Regions from separate parts of the Homo sapiens genome. Here region 1 is linked to region 2. The links are contacts of gene promoters, found by promoter capture Hi-C in human tissues and cell types (Jung and others, 2019). All regions are on one chromosome and are shown on one strand. Each heading gives the region's core, a stretch centred on a gene start or on the middle of the fragment in contact. The rest is flanking DNA. Distances are from core to core; before and after follow the strand shown.

The links. Contacts are between HindIII fragments. The study calls those that stand out against the background at their distance.
Region 1: a fragment that was not itself captured here is called in contact with the fragment with the promoter of ZNF559 in region 2 in 1 of the 25 tissues and cell types used here (spleen).

The regions. Positions count from the first base shown.
Region 1 is chr19:9,926,071-9,930,143 of GRCh38, forward strand. The region is part of intron 1 of OLFM2 (olfactomedin 2); the gene reads right to left. Among named protein-coding and RNA genes, the nearest start is that of OLFM2, 8.4 kb to the right of the region's middle. The HindIII fragment of the contact is 7,982 bases long and covers 1-4,073 here.
Region 2 is chr19:9,322,101-9,326,021 of GRCh38, forward strand. ZNF559 (zinc finger protein 559) reads left to right here and starts at 2,079. Exons shown (of 7, transcript NM_032497.3): 1 at 2,079-2,128; 2 at 2,595-2,680. ZNF559-ZNF177 (ZNF559-ZNF177 readthrough) reads left to right here and starts at 2,079. Exons shown (of 13, transcript NM_001384659.1): 1 at 2,079-2,128; 2 at 2,595-2,680. RefSeq lists an enhancer at 1,923-2,172 and a silencer at 2,343-2,482. The HindIII fragment of the contact is 8,356 bases long and covers 1-3,921 here.

The sequences.
Region 1 (4,073 bases), core at 1,416-3,915, 600 kb after region 2:
AGGTTGCAGCGAGCTGTGATGGTGCCACTGCACTCCAGCCTGAGTGATGGAGAGAGACCTCCTCTGTAACATTAAGACTTTTTTTTAAAAAAAAGCTGAAAACAACCCAGTGTCTATTTATTGATGAATGAATGGATAAACAAAATGTGGTATATCCATACATGGAATATGATTCAGCCTTTAAAAGGATGGAAATTCTAGGCCAGGCATGGTGGCTCACGCCTGTAATTCCAGCACTTTGGAAGGCTGAGGCGGGCGGATCACGAGGTCGGGAGATCGAGACCATCCTGGCTAACATGGTGAAACCCCATCTCTACTAAAAATACAAAAAATTAGCCGGGCGTGGTGGCGGCCGCCTGTAGTCCCAGCTATTCCGGAGGCTGAGATGGGAGAATCGCTTGAATCTGGGAGGCGGAGCTTGCAGTGAGCTGAGATCGCGCCACTGCACTCCAGCCTGGGACAGAGAGCGAGACTCCATCTCAAAAATAAATAAATAAATAAATAAATGACTAAAGTGATAAATTTTATATTATGTGTATTTTACCACAATTAAAAATTTTTAAAGTCTTCCATTTAAACATGCACAACCTCTTCTATGAGTCACTATTACCAGCTCACTAAATTCTAGGCCAAGTGCAGTGGCTCACGCCTGTAATCCCAGCAGTTTGGGAGGCTGAGGCAGGAAGATCTTATGAGCCCAGGAGTTCAAGACCGGCCTGGACAATATAGTGAGACCCTGTCACTACAAAAAATAAACAAAAAAAATTATGTGGGCATGGTGGCACACGCCTGTGGTCCCAGTGACTCAGGTGGCTGAGGTGGGAGGATTGCCTGAGCACAGGAGTTTGAGGCTGCAGTGAGCTGTGATCGCGTCACTGCACTCCAGCCTGGGCAACAGAGCAAGACTCTATCTCTAAAAATAAATAAATAAGGTCCAGCACGGTGGCTGACGCCTGTAATCCCAGCACTTTAGGAGGCCGAGGCAGGCAGATCACGAGGTCAGGAGTTTGAGACCAGCCTGGCCAACATGGTGAAATCCTGTCTCTACTAAAAATACAAAAATTAGCCAGGCGTGGTAGCACGCGCCTGTTAACCCAGTTCCTTGGGAGGCTGAGGTAGGAGAATTGCTTGAACCTGGGAGGGGAGGGTTGCAGTGAGCTGAGATCGCACCACTGCACTCCAGCCTGGGCGACAGAGCGAGGCTCTGTCTCGAAAAAAATATAAATAAATAAATGAATAAATAAATTCTAAAATCCTTAACCCAGCTTTCGAAGCCTTTACAGTCAGATCACAACCTTTTCAAGCTCACTTCCCTTCTCCTATCTGCACCCACCATAGGCATCAACCACACACTTACCCTAGTTCCCATTTCCAGAAACTTCCCCTCTTTTAAACATGGTTAGAATCATGTAAAATAAGGGTAAACCCACCAGGTCTTGTCAGCATGACCAATGACTTTCTTCTGTGTCCACCCTCCAGTCTTCACTCGCTCATCCTTCAAGGCCCATCTCAAATGCCACCTCCCCCAGGAAGCCCACTTGACTCTTGACATCTGGCACTTTGTACCATGTGTCGGCTGCATCTGTCTCCCAAATTTGGCAACTGACAGCCATTCAGAGCGGACTGTGTCACGTCCCTCCTGAGTGAGTGAGTGCCTCTATCAGTGTCTTTCTCATAGAAATTACTAGAGAAATTAGGAACAGAAACAATGTGGGCCGGGTGCAGTGACTCATGCCTGTAATCCCAGCACCTTGGGAGGCTGAGGCGGATCACTTGAGGTCAGGAGTTCGAGACCAGCCTGAACAATATTGTGAAACCCTGTCTCTACTAAAAATACAAAAATTAGCTGGGCCCTGTGGCTCATGCCTGTAATCCCAGCACCTTGGGAGGCTGAGGCAAGAGGATCACTTAAGGCCAAGAGTTCAAGACCAGCCTGGGCAACATAGTGAGACCCCCATCTCTACCAAAAAAAAGAAAAAGAAAGAGAAAAATTAGCTGGATGTAGTGGTACACACCTGTAGTCCTAACTATTTGAGAGGCTAAGGTAGGAGGATCACTTGGGCCAAGGAGGTTGAGGCTACAGTGGGCTGTGGTCACACCACTCCACTCTAGCCTGGTCAACAGAGCAAGACCCTGCGTCTTAAAAAAAAAAAAACAAAATAAAATTTAAAAAGAACCCGGCTCACCATGTGCTCATCATGTATTCTTCCTGGGATTCACCAGGACTCTCTTAGAGCCTAAAAAGTGAGAAGCTATTTGCCATTTCATTTGATGGCTGAACTGGCTTTGCCTTTTTGTTTCTTTCTTCTTGTGCAATGACACCTGTCTTCTCATCTATTAAGCAAGGCTAGTTACTAGCTGCCCAGGATTGTTGGAACTATGTGTAAAGTAAGAGTAAACTGGGACCGAGAGTCTACTGGGTCCCCAGGAGCAACAAGAACAACCTTTTCCAGGCTGGATGCAGTGGCTCATGCCTGTAATCCCAGCACTGAGGGAGGCCAAGGTGGGTGGATCACTTGAGGCCAGGAGTTCAAGACCAGCCTGGGCAACATGGCAAAACCCCGTCTCTATTAAAAATACAAAAACTAGCCAGGCATGGTGGTGCACGCCTGTAGTCCCAGCTACTTGGGTGGCTGAGGCATGAGAATTGCTTGAACCCAGGAGGCAGAGGTTGCAGTGAGATGAGATCGTGCCACTGCACTCCAGACTGGGCGACAGAGTGAGACTCTGTCTAAAAAAAAAAAAAAGAGAGAAAGAGAATAAGCTTTTGTATACAGTCTTCATGGAATCTACTCTCCCTACTCTCTGCTCTTTCCTGGTGACTTCTTGGTTTGTGGCTGCACTCTGGATGGATGAAGTTGCAAGACACACTGAGGTGGTGTGCACCTGTAATCCCAACTACTTGGGAGGCTGAGGCAGGAGAATTGCTTAAGCCCAGGAGTTCGAGGCCTGCCTGGGCACCATGGCAAGACCCCATCTCAAAAAGAAAAAAAGAGATAGAATGGGCTTCCACCTTGGCAGGGAGGACATGTCAATGTTCTCAGACAAGAGTTCCCTAGATATGGGAATAAAATGTTCCTGTCATGACAAGTTTTTTCCCAACACAGCCAGACTCAACTCCTCCAGAAGTTAAATCTACTCCACCCCTTGAAAGCACAAACTACCACCCAGTGCTTGTTGCATAGTACAACGCTTGAGATACAGAAGGCTCTCAATGAATGCTCTCTAAATGAATACATGGGCCGGGCGCGGTGGCTCACACCTGTAATCCCAGCACTTTGGGAGGCTGAGGCGGGTGGATCACCTGAGGTCAGGAGTTTGAGACCAGCCTGAACAACAATATAGAGAAACCCTGTCTCTACTAAAAATGTAAACATTAGGTGGGTGTGGTGGTGTGTGCCTGTAGTCCCAGCTACTTGGGAGGCTGAGGCGGGAGAAGAGCTTGAACTCGGGAGGTGGAGGTTGCAGTGAGCCGAGATTGCACCACTTCACGCCAGCCTGGGCGACAGAGTGAGACCCCGTCTCAAAATAAAATAAAATAAAATAAAATAAAATAAATGAATACATGCATGTAGGAACAAATGAAAACAGCACATTACTGTCTCTCAGGCACTAACACTGAATCCTGGGGCTACAAAGTCATTGCCCACACCAGCCACTGGGCTCATCAGAAACCCACACATACCAGGCCAGGCGTGGTGGCTCACGCCTGTAATCCCAGCATTTTGGGAGGCTGAGGCAGGCAGATCACCTGAGGTCAGGAGTTCGAGACCAACCTGACCAACATGGAGAACCCTCGTCTCTACTAAAAATACAAAATTAGCTGGATGTGGTGGTGCATGCCCGTAATCCCAGCTACTCGGGAGGTTGAGGCAGGAGAATCACTTGAACCCAGGAGGCAGAGGTTGCGGTGAGCCGAGATCGCGCCACTGACCTCCAGCCTGGGCAACAAGAGCGAAACTCCATCTCAAAAAAAAAAAGAAAGAAAGAAAGAAATCCACACATACCATATGGTTGGCCTACATGGATACAGTCACTGGTGTGATGATGATACAAGCATGTCCCTGTGCTCA
Region 2 (3,921 bases), core at 829-3,328:
AGTATTGTAAATACACCAATTGGCACTCTGTATCTAGCTCAAGGTTTGTAAACACACCAATCAGCACCCTGTGTCTAGCTCAGGGTTTGTGAATGCACCAATCAACACTCTGTATCTAGCTACTCTGGTGGGGACTTGGAGAACCTTTGTGTCGACACTCTGTAGCTAGCTAATCTAGTGGGGATGTGGAGAACCTTTGTGTCTAGCTCAGGGATTGTAAAGGCACCAATCAGCGCCCTGTCAAAACAGACCACTTGACTCTACCAGTCAGCAGGATGTGGGTGGGGCCACATAAGAGAATAAAAGCAGGCTGCCCCAGCCAGCAGTGGTAACCCGCTTTGATCCCCTTCCACGCCGTGGAAGCTTTGTTGTTTCACTCTTTGCAATAACTCTTGCTACTGCTCACTCTTTGGGTCCACACTGCTTTTATGAGCTGTAACACTCACCGCGAAGGTCTGCAGCTTCACTCCTGAAGCCAGCGAGACCACGAGCCCACCGGGAGAAATGAACAACTCCAGACGCGCCGCTTTAAGAGCTCTAACACTCACCGCGAAGGTCTGCAGCTTCACTCCTGAGCCAGCAAGACCACGAACCCACCAGAAGGAAGAAACTCCGAGCACATCCGAACATCAGAAGGAACAAACTCCAGACGTGCCACCTTAAGATCTGTAACACTCACCACGAGGGTCCCCGGCTTCATTCTTGGAGTCGGTGAGACCAAGAACCCACCAATTCCGGACACATTAGTACAGGTCTTTGAATAAATTTTGCTTCTAACAGAAGTTACTATTTATTCCTAATTAGATGGGCAGGAAAGTCTTTGAAGAGGAACCTCTACTTTACTTTTTACTGTAGAGAGAGTAGTCTTTGATCTTGGGGAGATGGGGTTTTTCCTTTTGGTTTAGCTTCAGGAAGTTTGTGTTAATTGGCCTTAGGTGCCCTGCCCCCAGCCCCAGGTGTTTTTCCTTTGATTTAACTTTAGGAAATTATCACGAATTGGCCTTAGATTCCCCGACCCCAGATCTTGGTGTTTTCACTTTTAGGAAGTCCGCATGAATCTTATCTATGCTCTTAACTACGTCCTAATTTTTGTGTTTTTTGTCTTTTTTATAGGAATAGGGTTTTGCCATATTGCCCAGGCTGGTCTCGAACTCCTGAGCTCAAGTGGTCTGCCTGCCTCAGCCTCCCAAAGTGCTGGGATCACTGGCGTGAGCCATCAGGCCCAGCCTCTATGTGCTAATTTTTGAACAAATTCCAATAGGAGCATTCTAGTCTCTGAGTGTGAGATGACCAAAAATCAAGCCCTTGTGAGGCTGAATAGAGTCGGGAGGCAGGGAACTTAAGGCTGTTTCAGGCCGACTTCCTAGAACTAAATTGAAAGGAAAACCCTCACTTTCCTCGCCTAAATAACAAAAGGACCAGAGGCTACTCCCTTTGACCTTTTCTGCTGGCAGATAGGAAATTGGCTGTCTGCAACAAATCAGACTGATGGCCGGTTGAGTCTTCATTTGCATAGAAGTGTAACTTTGTAACGTCGTAACTTCACCCTAGCCTTTGATTGGTTGCTTTTTGCAACCAATCAGATGTTTGCACAGGAGTGTGACCTTTGTAACTTCAGACTCTGGTTGGCTGCTTTCTGCAACCAATCAGACTGAACGCGGGCTACCGCTTCATTTACAGGAGGTGAGCATGAAGTGGCCAATGGGAAAATTCTAGGAGGTATTGGGACTCATGAAGGTTCTGTTTCGGAGCCCTTGAGCTGCCGCTTGGCCAGTTCCCACACTGTGGAGTATGCTTTCGTTTTCAACAAATCCCAGCTCTTGTTCTTTTGTTGCTTCATTCTTTCTTTGCTTTGCTGGGCGTTTTGTCTAATTCTTTGTTCAAAACGCCAGTAACCTGGACAGCTTGCAGTCAAGACCCCCTACCGGTGACACTTGCGCTCTTCGGGGAGGTAAACAGCATTTCCTCTCAGCTCTGGGTTGGAAAAAGCCGCAGCAGCTGATGGGCCCGGGAACCCGAGGCCCCGCCCCCTAGGTGGTCCTAGCCTTTGCGCGTGCGCGGCGTGTCTGCGTGGGCGCATGCGCATAACGGCCGCCATCTTAACAGCGCGTTCCCGTTGGCGTCTGAGGTAAGTTTTTGTTTCTGGGCGGCGTTCGGTGGTGTCCCGGTGCAGCCACGCGAGAGTAGAAGGGTGGAAAGGGGAGGTGCCCAGTGAAATGGAGCCTGTCCCGTGCACTTTCGGGCATTTCGAGCATCTTGTGGGCTCTCCCAAGTCGCGGCCCCTCCTCTGAGAGCCACAGTCAGGTCTGTCCTCAGGGGTCGAGGCGGCTGCGCTGGGGCCTCGGCCCGGGAGGAGGCGGGGGGCACGGCCTTTCCATTTTCCCTGCTCCCCTCTGCAGAAGCCTCATAGGGCCCGGCGCGGCGGCTCACGCCTGTCATTCCCAGCGCTTTGGGCGGATTGGGTAGGAGGATTACTTGAGGCCAGGAGTTCAAGACCAGGCAGGGCAACATAGGGAGACCCCCCCCCCCAACCATCTCTAATGGAAAAAAAAAAAAAAGTCTCCACATCCAGCGTTGTGCCTTTTCTCTATAAGGAACAGCATCTCTGCCTTCCTGTTCACGGTGACCTTCGCTTGGTGTCCTCCTGGCCTCAGCAACCTGACAATTCTGTCGTGTCCCGGTGAGCACTTCATGCACTTGTTCTGGCTGTGGGTGTCGGGTCTTGAAGTTTAAGTTGTGTCGAGGTGGAAAGAAACCTTTTCAGGTGGTTGTTCGAGAGCACATGGATCTGATACCATCGAATGCATGAGTGGATGAATGCACATAACTGTAAAATTTACCACCAAGGAAAAACACAGGACTACTCAACTGTGGTTCCAGGCCATCACCTAGATCTCACTCTAGCGCCCTGTAGATTCCCCCAGAGGTTCAAAACGAGGGCATCCCCAGGAACACGGTGCGGGCTGATTTACTAGCAGGAGGGATTGAATTGATAATGAATGCGAAGATAACTTTTGACAGGTGGGTTTTCTACCAGTTACTCATTTGAAAGTCTTACTGAGGGCGGGGCAAGGTGGCTCACACCTGTAATCCCAGCGTTTTGGGAGGCTGAGGCTGGAGGATCGCTTGAGCCCAGGAATTTGATGCCAACCTGGAAAAAATAGGGCAAGCCTCTGTCTCTACTAAAAATAAAAAATTAGCTGGGCATGGTGGTGTCTGTGGTCCCATCCACTTTGGAGGCCGAGATGCGAGGATCACTTGAGCATGGGAGGTCGAGGCTGCTGTGAGCCATTATTGTGTCACTGCATTCCAGCTTAGGCAACAGAGTGAGACCCTGTTTCAAAAAGAAGAAAAAAAAACAAATACTGATCTAGAGAACATCTGTAGCTCGAGTAAAACAAATGTCTTTAGTCCAGGTGTGGTGGCTCACGCCTGTAATCCCAGCATGTTGGGAGGCTGAGGCTGGCGGATCACGAGGTCAGGAGTTTGAGACCAGCCTGGCCAACATAGTGAAACCCCGTCTTTACTCAAAATACAAAAAATTAGCCGGGCGTGGGCACCTGTAATCCCAGCTACTCAGGAGCCTGAGGCAGGAGAATCGCTTGAACCTGGGAGGCAGAGGTTGCAGTGAGCCAAGATTGCACCCTTGCATTCCAGCCTGGGCAACAGTGCGAGACTCCGTCTCCAAAAAAAAAAAAAAAAGTCTTTAACCCTTAACTACATTCACTAGTTGTTAAGATTTGTTTCATTTTTTTGTATATGTACTTTATCATGAGCCATTTAAATTGGAAGTGAATGAACTTTCCCCTTTTAAGCGTGTATCTCAAATACCTCCTGAAAGTGAAGACAAGCTTAAAACAAGACTTCATTGTCCATCCCCACCCCCAAATCAAATCAGATTTCCCCAGCTGTCCAAAAGTC